Linked DNA regions of Homo sapiens: region 1 is linked to region 2. The links are contacts of gene promoters, found by promoter capture Hi-C in blood cells and fetal thymus (Javierre and others, 2016). All regions are on one chromosome and are shown on one strand. Each heading gives the region's core, a stretch centred on a gene start or on the middle of the fragment in contact. The rest is flanking DNA. Distances are from core to core; before and after follow the strand shown.

Region 1 (6,160 bases), core at 467-2,966, 600 kb before region 2:
AAGTGTGTAGTAGGCTACGCCATTTAGGTTTGTGCAAGTACATTCTATGACGTTCACACAAGGATGAAATAGCCTAACATATTTCTCAGACCATAGCACTATCGTTGAGTTATGCATGACCTTATTTACTATATGGCCGCTTACAGAAAAAGTTTGCCAATCATGACCTACTAAGACGACAAACCCTATGTCAATAATCAAAAGAATCCAAGTAAGAACCAGACTACTTCAGTGCTTTCTAAATGTGCCTGACCCTGGAACGCATTATTTCCAATTCAGGATTGGTGTTTCCTGACACACACAAGTCAACTCAAAAGGAAGGTTCGCTTTATTATTATGTGCTTAAAAAAATTTTCTTTACCATTTAAAAAATATTTTTAAGGTGTTTAAGAACTCCTTGGACTTATATGTGAAAAAATGTTCACTTGCTGAGTAGCAGATCACATAATATTGAAAAGATCATATGTGAAAAACATCACATAATTTTGAAAAATTATCTTGCACATAATACGTAAATATTCAGTCTTCCACCACACCATACGTACATTTATATTTATAATGATAGGCATTAATCACAGAAACTTCTATTAAGAAAAGGCACTCGCATAAGCACCTTGACTTCCTGCAGTGGTCCAGTGTCTTGTCCTTACACTGGAGGACTCACAGTTTCCCCAGCTTCTACCTTCAGTGAAACTGTATACTGCTTCTGGACCTTTATTATTTGCACGATCATGCCCGTGCTGTTGTTTACGACACATACTAGCAATGAGCCATTCAGCCTATTTATTTATTCAGGGCCCAAAATCTGAACAATAACAACTTAAAAAAACTTATTGTAACCCAAGCAAGATGAAGACTAGAATCAGAAAAGGCCTTATCAGACAAGTAATACATACTGGTTTAATTAAATACCCTGGAGTGTGGTGGCCTTATACATAAGGTCTAGCCAACATTCATTCGTTCCTATTCCAAGACCCTGCTTATCAACGGTGCAAGTATTTCTACATAATTTTCTCTTCCTTTTATGCTGTAGAGCATACCGCTTGTGGGAAATGGAGGGAAGGCCCACGGTCCCGACAATGTTTGGGCAGGGTACCTCGTCCCAGGTGGATCGCCCACCTTACTGCTGCATAGACCTGCTGTGTATCCCGGCCCCGGCCCCGGCCCCGGCCCGACGTCCTCTAGCCCCTCTTCCCAGCACTCAGGACCGCGGATTTCAGATGACCAAAGGCCACCCTGTGACAACAGCGTCGGAACCACGGCACTTCCGCCTGCGGCCGGTGAGACTACAAATCCCAGAAGCCCCGCGCAAGTCTCGTCCCACTACCACCCCCTCCCATCACGACTCCCAGAACCCTCCGCGAGACGCCAGGGCCTCGAAATAGAACAAAACCGGCCGGTGGGGGAGGGGGAAGGTGAGGGTCTCGGAGGACACAGGGGGTTAGAGAGCTCTCTGCAAATGCCGAAGACCCAAGCAGGCCTGCCGCCTACCCCTCCCCGCCCCACAACTGCTAGGCGCGGAGACCGCGGCCTGTTCCCCGCGCCTCCCGGGAAGCTGAGGAAGGTCCCGGACAGGCTTCCCCGCCGGCTCCTGCTAAGAGGTCCGCAGACCCTAGCCCGGTGTCCCCCCTCCCTCTCATAACGTTCCCCGCACACCGGCGCAAACCTCCGGCTCAGGAACCGCAGCAGCTTCGCTGTCCACGGCAGACGCAGAAACGCCGTTCACAAGCCTTTTCCCAGAAGCCCCCGGCGCGGGCTGCTTCCGGTCTGCGGGCCTGAGGAGGCGGGGAGAGGTAAAGCCCACGTTGCCATGGAGAAGCGCCCCGGGCGGGGGAGGGGCGGCCCCACGACAATGACCGCATTGAGGCTGCGCTTGGCCTCGCGCCTCTCCTCGAACAGCCCAGCGTCCTCTGGACCGTTTAAAAGAAAACATAAAGAGGACTCTACCATTAAGATAGTCCTTACAATTTCGCAAGCCCTTTCACGTGCATTATCTTGTGGATCCTCTCAGTAATCCCCTGCAAGAAGGAATGAAAGTGAGTGTTTGTGAAAGCTTACTACATTGTGCCAGGCGCTCTCGTCGTGCTTTACATGTCATTTTTTTTTCCACAAATAAATGATGTAGGAACTTTCATTATCCCCATTTCACAGCTGAGATAGTTGAGGCACAAATACAGTAAATAACCTGACAAGAGCTCACAACTCATTTGTGGGTAGCAAGATTTGAAACCAAGACGTGATTCAAATCTTTGGCTCCCACTAGTTATGTCATGGAGCTTTATTCCGACCTATTTATCTGTCAGGAAAACTAGATAAGACAGGTTAAGAGTTTTGGCAGTGATGTCACGGTGAATTTGTAGAATGCATGGTCATCTTAAAGCTGGGCATTTTATACCATAAAACAACTGCTGACGCGATCATTTAAAATTACAAATCAGACCACTTCACTCCCCTATTTAAAGCCCTCCAATTTATGTCATAATAATTTATGACATAAAAACTCCTTATAATGGCCTGTAAGTCCCCTGTGGTCTGTTGCCTGCCCGCACCCCCAGACCCTGGCGCCCCCAGTCACCTCAGCTCCTCGGCTCATTGTGGCCCAAGATCCTCAGCCTCACCACCTGCCTTTCATGGCGCATGACCCTTCATGGCACTGTTATTAATGGAAGTGATCTCATTTATTTACTTGTTTTATTTTTTGTTTTGTTTTGTCTTTAAGTCCCTTAAGGGCAGGGACCTTGTCTGTCTTGCTCACCACAGTATCCCATCCTAGATCCTGGAAGCTGACTGCCTGGTAAATAGAGAACTCAATAAATATTTGTTGAATAAATAAATGAATTGTGGGATGGTTACATTGCTGCCTTTAGCTAGGTCACATGATTGGCATCAGACACCACACAAAGGAGCCCTGTTGTTTAAGGACTGGTCAAAAGTGTAGATCCAGCCTAACATAAGCATTTCAAGATCCTCAGGCTTTGACTTTTTGCCTCATTGGAGAAAATGCCCTCTGAAAAGTGCCGTCAGGCTCCGCTGGATTCGTGCATGAGAGAGCAAGTGAGCGAGCAGCTGATGGTATACCACTGCTTTTCATTCCGACCAGAGCTCTTCTCACAACCCCTGCTAACACTTCTCTCCATTGCAGGAAGCTTCAGAAGTACAGCCTTTTCACTCTGCTACTTGGATACGGCCCCTAAGCAACTTGGCTGCTCTTCCCAACCTTTCCCTCTTATCTGATTTGTAAAGGCTAGCTGAAGGCATTTTTGTTTTAAGAGTTTTTACATCTAATTAATGTTGGAAAACAAAAATAATAAATCTGAAACCTAACCTTGAGGAAGTTAAAAATGTTGCAAAATTTTACAAAACCCTTTTCCTGTGATTATATTGTTTGTTTTGTTTTTGAGACAGGGTCTTGCTCTGTCACCCAGGCTGTAGGGCAATGGTGCAGTCTTGGCTCACTGCAGCTTCAACCTCCCAGACTCAGTGATCCTCCCGCCTCAGCCTCCTAACTGGGCATTTTATACCATAAAACAGCTGTTGATGCAATCATTTAAAATTACAAATCAAACCACTTCATTCTCCTATTTAAAGGCCTCCATTTTATGCTGTAATAATTTATCTTGAAATGCTTATGGAAGGCTGGACTTACACTTTTGATAAGTCCTTAAACAACAGGTGTGCTCCACCATGCCCAGCTAATTTGTTTGTTTGTTTGTTTGTTTTTCAGAGATGAGTTCTTCCTATGTTTCCCAGGCTGCTCTCCAACTCCTGGGCACAAGTGACCCTCCTGCCTTGGCCTCCTAAATTGCTAGGATTGCAGGCATGAGCCACCGTGCCTGGCCTCCATTCTATTATTATTAATTATTTGTAAACTACTAAATGGAAACCACAGTAAGGTTTTCCTCACTAAGTTACTCCTTTGAGGGCAGGGGCTACTAACACCCGCTTTGAAACACCATCCTTCTGAGGTCCTCTGGGATTTTTTCCTGAATGGTGGCCCTTGTTGCCATCTTAAAGATCTAGTCAAGATAAAACATGTTCCTCTGGACAACCTGAATGGAGGGAGCAGCTTCATACCCGGGCCTGACAACCTTGCACATATCCACATAGGCCACATAGGCAATGCCTGAACCACAGCTGATCTGAGTCTTGGCAGAACACCTTGGGATCTTCCCAGAAGATGAGTGCATGAGAGGCTTGTAAGCAGCTAGTGCAAGGCCATTTCCCACTCAGCTCTCTGTCTTCCAAAGAGACTATCATGAGGCAGTTTCTATTGCTTCCTGGGTTCCAACGAGCCATTCTGCCTTACCCTCTTAGAGTACAGCTGCAGGTTATAACAAGGCTTAGCTGCAGCATGGCATTAACCCCTCAGCAACAAGGTGTCCACAGTGTATGCTGTAGTCATCCAGCCCCTTCTGTTTTGGTGTCATCATTTTGGTATCTGAGACAAAAGCTCATGGAGAGCTGGCACTTGCTTTTGCTTTCAATGTCTGTGCAAATAATAATATGTCTAAATTCAAAAAGGGTTCATTTCTTTACCAGCCAAATCTTTCAACCTTGCCTTGATACCAAACATCTGATTCATTAATTAATGGTAAAACGAACAAAATGACCAGACAGATACTACCTGGGTACCAGAGATAATAGAGATGAATAAAATGAAGTCATGATTCCGTCTTTGTTTTTCCCTTTAAAAGAGATGAGATCTCACTCTGTTGCCCAGGCTGGAGTGCAGTGGCATAATCACAGCTTGCTGCAGCCTGGAACTCCTGGTAGGGATCCTCCCGCCTCAGCCTTCTAAAACGCTAGGAGTACAGTTGTGAGCCACCATGTCCAGTTTGATTCCTTCTTTTAACATTACCATCTTGTTAAGGAAATAAACAACAACAACAGAAAAAAACAAGTATTCACAAGGCAGTGTAGAAGTGCTACAGTAGAGAAAAGCAGAAGGCCTGTAAGGGCTCCTAAATGAGATAGTGTGCTAAGAGGGAAGGGAGGCACCCTGAAATGGAGGAAGCCAGCCAGAAAAGTTTTCAGGCTGGGCATAGTGGCCTGCACCTTTGGTCCCAGGTACTCAGGAGACTGAGGTGGGAGGATTTCTTGAACCTGAGGGGTTGAGGATGCAGTGAGCTCTGATCGCATCACTGTACTTAAGCCTTGTGGACAGAGTGAGATCCTGATCAAAAAAAAAAAAAAAGTGTTCACACTGGAAGGAAAGCATAGACCTTCAGATTTGGTGTTATCAGATTCCATCCAAGACTGATTTTTTTTCCAGGCTTTGGAGCTCTCAGTCCCCTTCAGCTCAAAAGTATCTCCCTCTGGGCACTTTAAGTACATTGCTTAAAGATTCCATTTTAGCTAGTAAGTATACAGTATGAGGAGTCTTTTGATTGCAAGTGACTGAAAACCTAATAGGCAAGCATCGTTAGCTTCCCACACAAAGTGCTTTCCCTTGCTTCTAATACACTCCTGATTTTTTTGGATGGAGAGGGGGAACAGTGTGCCCAGCTGTAAGCAATAAAGTGTAATTGAGCTAAGCTATCCATGACCATTCTGCTTCCCTGTGCCAGACCCTCGCTTTGCCTTGCTGGCACCGAGGAATGAGTATGTGATTCATTTCTGGTCCATGAGATATAAGGGGAAATGGTTTGTATCTTTGAAGAAATCTGTCTAATTCATTTAAGTTGTCAGATTTATTGGCATAAAGTTGTTCACAATTATTTCCTTAATATCATTAATGTGAGTTCCTTAATATCTTTTTAATGTTTGTAGGGATGTCCCCTCTTTCATTCCTGACATTGCTAATTTCTGGTTTCTTTTTTCTTAATCAAGACTTCAAGTTTTGCTTGAGGCTTATCAATTTTATTAATTTTTCAAAGAATCAACTTTTGGCTTTGTTTATTTGTTTCATTATTTGTTCTCTATTTATGGAGTTCTTCTCTTAATAAAATTAACAGACAGCAAAATATGGCACTTTTGGGGGGGCAGATATTTCTGAGTTTTAGATTTGTGAAACGACCACCAAAATCATGACACAGAATAGTTCCATCATTCTATAAAACTCCATCAAGTTGTACTCATGCCTTCGCCACATCCCAATTCATGGCAACCACAGATTTGTCATCTGTCACAATAGTATTGACTTGTCCAGAATGTAATAAAA
Region 2 (6,563 bases), core at 3,781-6,280:
TGCTTTTTTTGTATAATTTTTAAAAATCTAGTGAAGTATTTAGCTTTAAACATAGTCTTTTTGGAAATTATCTTCATATGGCATTGGTCAATTGTGGTCCAGCCATGCAAGAGGATACAATGGTACAGCTTAAAGAATGAAATAGAGCTATGTATGCTGCAATGGGAACACATTTAGATATGTACAAAAAGATGCAATAACAAAACATACAGTGAGACACTATTTGCATTATATAGAAACAAGACATGCATATGTGTATTTGTTAATGCACACACACAGAAAGAAGGATGAGAGACTCTGAGCAGCAGCCACCTACCTCCGGCAAGTGGAATAGGAGGGAGGCCTCACACCCTCCTGTCCTGTCTGAACTTTCTAAGGGTAGATTACTCATAAATAGTAAAAACTAGTTGTTTTAGGATAAGCCATTGTTTTTCTTCCCTCATATTGACAGACTGCACTAAGATGTGAGTACAGTCTCCAACCAGCACTTATAAACCCACATCAGCCTCAAGTTCACAAAATCAAAATCAATTTCTATATGTGGTACCACCTGCCCCTCAGGAGTTATAAAAAGAAATGTCACAACCAACTAAGGGTGTGTCCAACTTAAAGAATGATAGTGTTGTAGCTCACACGTGTGGTCCCGACTACTTGCGAGGCTGAGGCAGGAAGATCACTTGAGCCCGAGTTTAAGGTTACAGTGAGCAATGAACATATCACTGTACTTCAGCCTGAGCAACACAGCATGATCCAATTTCTTAAAAAAAAAAAAAGAAAAGAAAAGATAGTGATACCTACATTTTTACAGAGTATGATAGTCTAACAAGAGCAAAAAATCCTCTGCAAGGAATTTGTCTTTATGGAAGTAATACGTTATGCAAACAGTCATTTTAAAGATACACCATAAACAGAATGGCAAACCTGTGCTCACTATAAACACTAGAAAAAATATCAAATAAATGCATCAATAACTTGTAACATCCCTGTCCATTGCTATTACATAAGCAATTGAGAGACTCTACTTTACAAAAATTTTAAAGGCCTTACCACAGGAAGATCACACATACCTTGAGTTAAGTTGCAGCCTCGAAGGAATTGAAAGCCTATCTTCCAAAGCACCTGCTGCTTTTTCTCTCGAGCTGCCCTTGCCCCAGGGAGGCAGTCTAAGTCCCACCCCATGTTGGGCGATGATGCGATCATGTGAACCAGATGCGATCATGATGCGATCATGTGGGCATTCCATGAGCCCAGACTCCCAAACTGCCACTGCTCACTCCAGACAGAGAAAAAACAGGTATATACAATATGGAGAGACTTTTGGTTACCTTTAATATATTACCAGTAAATTTCCCTCTCAAGTCATGATTTTGAAAAAAGTTTTGCAATATTTTAAAAGAAGTTTTTAAATAATGTAATATCATTGGAAATAAATTTTCTACTAAGAAAGAACTCTCAATAGTATAATGGACATCTCTGGGAAAATATCACTTGATAGATGGCTAATTTTTAAAGGAACATTGATTCCACAAAAGAGACTCACAGTTGCTTATGTACATTAAAACAAAATAGTAACATAATGGCTACATTTGGTGAGCACACACTATGTATTTTACACATATTCTCTTATTTAATCTTCAAAATAAACTTCTGAAGTGAGTACCAATCACCTCAAGAAAACTGAGGCAAAGTTCTATAAAACCTGCTCAAAGTAACACAGCCAGTAAGTGAGGTAGCCAGAACTTGATCCAGTTCTTCTGGAGCTCAAGGCAAATCCACCATGTCACACAGTCTTCCTCCCCTGCCTCATTCCTGCTCAAAAAACTGGAAGAGAACATTAGTTGCCACACGCATGGTGTCCCCAAGAGAGCCTGTGCTTCCCACAACCCTAGTTATTGGCAAAACCCTCATGAAGCCATGTCCCTCTCCTACCAGAACTGACTGGATAAGGGCTGTGCAGCCAATCCAGAAACCAGAGATGACCTTTGCGTGACCTCACTGGACATTGGAGCGATACAATTCGACTTCCTCTCTGAGAACAGGAGTTAGGCTACCTGGCAGCAGCCAGGAGCTGGGAGCTCACAGTGTGCACAGAGTGGGGCCTGAGGTCACCCAGGCACAGAAACTGTGAGGCAGCAAGCTTCAGAGCAGAGGAAGGGCAGAGGCAGGACACAAAAGCACAGCCTCTGTGGGTGGCCCAGTCCCATTAATGCCAAAGCATGAGAGTAACAATCCCACAGGACCCTGCTTCTGGGGTCCCAGAGATGCCTTTTCTGTCCCAAGATGCCATCTTGTGATTAGTGACTGTGGCCAACTGTTATCACTCCTCCCCATCCCAGACAGCCATCCCCTTCCTCTGTAGTAAAAAACTCATAACATGTCTAGTATGGCAAAGAGCCCAATTAATGAACTTCACTTCTTGACCATCTGGTATTTGGAGGCGGAGAGCCAATTAATTGTGTTTCGGCACAATTCAGCAATGATTTACTATTTCTGATCATTTCTATAAGTTGACAGGGCTCAACTGGGTGGTTCTTGCATCCCACATGGTATCAAGTGGAGTTTGACTGGGACTGGTACACTCAAGATGGCTTCATACACGTGACTTATGCCTCAACTGGGGTACTTGGAATAGCTGGGGACTGGCTAGGCCTCTCTTCACATAGTTGTTCATTATTCAATAGTTTACTCTGGGCCAGCTGTGGTGGCTCACACCTGTAATCCCAGCACTTTGGGAGGCCGAGGTGGGTGGATCACTTGAGCCAAGGAGTTCAAGACCAACCTGGGCAAAATGGCGAAACCCTGTCTCTACAAAAAATTAGCTGAGTATGGTAAAGTGCACCTGTAGTCCCAGCTACTATCGAAGCTGAGGTGGGAGGATCACCTGAGCCTGGGAGGTTGAGGCTGCAGTAAGCTGTGTTCACACCATTGTATTCCAGATATATATATATATATATTCTAGTCTAAGCTTCTTTACATGGCAGCTGGATCCCAAGAGGGTAAACAGAAGCAGCAAAGCCTAGCAAGGCCTTCCAATACATTCTATTGGTCAAAGCAAGTCATAGGGCCAGCCCTGACTAAAGGAGAAGAGAAACAGACTATACCTCTTGACAGGAAAAAATGACTTAAGCCTACAAAAATTATTGGCAGCCATCTTTGCAGACATTCTACCACAAAATTTAAATGGAAGTTGTTAAATTGTATTCAGCTACCTTCTCCCTTTCTTCCTACTTCCTGCCTAGAACATGAGTGTCATGACTAGAACTTCAGCAGTCATCTTGCAACCACCAGGCAGCCTGAAAGATGAGAACTACACACTGAGGATAGCAGAGAAGAAAGAGAGGAGTCCAGGTTCCTGATGAGCTAGGGGAGCTGCCACACCCACCAAGGACTGCCTATTTACAGAGTGTTTACACATTGGAAAAAATATAAAGCTCTACCTTACTTACATAATGATTATTTGGTTTGTCCATCATACAAAACACAGTGGGCACAGGCTAAAATGTGAACAACTAACAGAAGGAATTTCATAGCCCATAATGCAACATTTGCTGATGCGTTGTATTTTTTAAGAATATAACGAGAAGCACATACTCTGATTAAATTGCTAAGTTCCATTACAGTCTTATAAAATATATTACAGCAAGCCTCAAGCTAAAGGCTTATTGGCAAGTACCTTGCCTCTGAGGTACAAGGAATCCGTTCCTGGGGGCTTATGAGAAAATGTTAGGGGGCTCCTTAATAATTCTGTACAAACACTGCTTGAGAAAATACTATTAATGCCTTTCCGCCAAAACTAAGCTTGAGTACTTTTTCTAAACTCCTCACCGTTTAAGAAGAAATAGCATGCAAAGTTCAAATGAGGTCATCATATCCACCCCCTCCTGCCTCCCACCTAGTTTTTTCATTCAGCAATCAATCCCTCCCCAACAATTGAGGTTCAGTTGCTGTGTCTGATTCATGGAAGAATAACCTGTCTTTTCCTCCCCCTTCCAAATTTTTTAAAACACCAAGCAGTATAGGCAAGTTTTTGTTTGTTTGGCTGGTTGGTTGGGTTTTTTTTGAGACGGAGTTTGGCTCTTGTCACCCAGGCTGGAGTGCAACTGCACGATCTCGACTCACTGCAACCTCTGCCTCCCGGGTTCAAGTGATTCTCCTACCTCAGCCTCCCAAGTAGATGGGATTACAGGTATGTGCCACCACGCCCAGTTAATTTTTGTATTTTTAGTAGAGACGGGGTTTCACCATGTTGGCCAGGATGGTCTCAATCTCTTGACCTCGTGATCCACCCGCCTCGGGCTCCCAAAGCGCTGGGATTACAGGCATAAGCCACCGCGCCCGGCCGGCAAGTTTTAAACCACAAGAATAAGATGTCTTTTCACAGGTGTGCAGAGAAGGACCCCAGAACTGGGTAAATTGAGAAGTGGGACACACAGGTTTTGCAGGCCTGACTCGGACACACAGGTGTGAGCCTGCAACAACAAACAGCTCCTCAACCCTCAAGTACAAGAACAGGGGAAAGAGTGGCATTCTATATTTTTTTGAAAACTAGCTGAACTTGGTCTGCTCTTATTTTACCATTTTCATGTATGGTTTTGCAAATGTTTTACTTGACTTTAGCCTATATTTCAAATTATCGGAATGTTTTATATTCCCATCTATTTTAAACTAGTAATTACCTGTCTAAAACAAATGGACACCTTCTTGAAATAAATGTAATTAGATTATTACTGATACACACAGTATTATTGAGACTAAAAGTAAATAATTTACTGCTTGAACCCGGGAGGCGGAGGTTGCAGTGAGCCGAGATCAAGCCACTACCCTCCAGCCTGGGCAACAGAGTGAGGCTCCGTCTCAAAAAAAAAAAAGAGTAAATAACTTACTGTACTGTTTTGCAACACCTTAGCCCTACAGTCTAATCATTTACACAAAGCATTTTTCTAGAGATTCCACTCTGAATGTTCATCATGGCATAGAAACACAACACTTTGCAACTGATCTCCTAATCCAATTAAATGTTTGTATCTTATTTGGTCATTTGCCAAAACTTGTTGACTATGTGCTGCACACGTTTCTATTTCTACCGTGGTAACCTTAAAACACCAAGGATAACCAGCGGATTCTTAATTAATGACCTCCTCTGACTCCAGTGATCTGTCCAGGGTCATGTCCCACAGATGTCAACCAAGACAGCACTCCTGCCAGACCCATCTGGCTTTATTTCCAGGCAATTTCCTTTTTTGACTTCCCATATGTTTGCTTCTTGTCTTTCTGGTCTTTGCTTTCTGTTCCCAGTCTCTCTAACTCACTGTTTCAGCACACACCGACTTTCTCTTAAAACATCCCTAAAGTGATGGCTGTTTCTCATCATTTGTCCACGCAGTTAACTCAGAACTCAGGGACACTGACCCAGGCCTCCACTGGCTTCAAAACAAAGAGTTTGCCCAAGGTCCTCAAGGAAATTATTAATGCTCAGCTCTAATAAAATGACCATGCTCCCACCCCCTTCCCACACACCGTCTCATTAGCAGGGTTTATTTTTATGGGTAGTACTGTGAATCCACTAGGTAGAAGCAGGTCCTCTCGACGATCCCCTGACGACAGCCCTTGCAGACACGGCTATGCCCAGGCCCATCGCCTGGATCCTGAGCGCGTCTGGCTCTCCACGCCAACCCATTCTGCCCGCTGACTGCTTGAGTCCTAAGCCCGACGACCCTGCCCCAGACCCTGGAGACGCTGGACGCTGGCTCACCTGGATCCCACTCAGACCCGGGCGCGGGCTCACCTGGTCCCCCGCGGGCTTGGGCGTACGCTCATCTGGATCCCACTGGGACCCGGGCGCAGCCTCACCTGGTCCCCCGAGTTCCCGGGCGCGGCCACACTGGGTCCCCCTCCTGCTCGCGCCGCCCTGGGCGCCCCGGAGGAAGCTCTGTGCGGCTGCAACCCTGAGTCCCAGGCGGAGCGGTCAGCGGAGAGTTCCAGCCAACTTATTCCGTGCGCCTCGAAAGGGAGGGTTGCTGGGCGTATAGATATTCTATTTCGCGGGGCCTTTGCGCTCCGAGTGGCCCCTCTAGGCCAGTTCCTCCGAACGCTAATCGGGGGCTCCGCGCTCTCCCCTCGCTTCCCTTTGCTTGGGGAATTGGCAGCGGGGCGCAGGGATCCATCGGAAACGCAAAACTACTTTTTCCCCCTGCTGGTCACTGTGAGGAACTGCACGTGGTGGAACTAACCTGTAAGTAAGGATTCCTTCCCTCTAAGGAGAGAAGCTTGGGGTCTTTCCTCCCCCATCAAAGGCTTCGAAAACTCCCCCTTTTATTCCGTTTCTTTTATTTCAACTGTCACATTAAGAGATAGCAACTCATTTTTAGGCTTCAGATTAATGAGAATAAGTAAAATTAAAACATCCCACTAGAGCGTTTAAAATTTTTTTTCTCTTTTTAAATTATGGAAAATTGCAAACGTGAAAGTAGGCAGAAGAGTATAATGAGGTTCCAGCTTTTGGTAACGGTGGACTAATCTTCTTGCAGATAAAAGTTATACAATCTGGCTGGGCTCCGTGGCTT

Evidence for each region. Contacts are between HindIII fragments. The CHiCAGO score rates a contact against its expected background, and 5 or more counts as called.
Region 1: the fragment with the promoter of ZNF24 here is called in contact with a fragment that was not itself captured in region 2 in 6 of 17 cell types (total B cells, naive CD4 T cells, fetal thymus and 3 more); the score reaches 7.7 in total B cells.

Annotation. Positions count from the first base shown.
Region 1 is chr18:35,342,704-35,348,863 of GRCh38, forward strand. ZNF24 (zinc finger protein 24) reads right to left here and starts at 1,717. Exons shown (of 4, transcript NM_006965.4): 1 at 1,657-1,717. LOC124904283 (a long non-coding RNA gene) reads left to right here and starts at 1,351. Exons shown (of 2, transcript XR_007066337.1): 1 at 1,351-2,036; 2 at 3,725-6,160. RefSeq lists an enhancer at 1,035-1,094 and a silencer at 1,775-1,944. The HindIII fragment of the contact is 2,541 bases long and covers 1-2,051 here.
Region 2 is chr18:35,944,382-35,950,944 of GRCh38, forward strand. No RefSeq gene overlaps it. Among named protein-coding and RNA genes, the nearest start is that of MIR3929, 14 kb to the left of the region's middle. The HindIII fragment of the contact is 2,468 bases long and covers 3,797-6,264 here.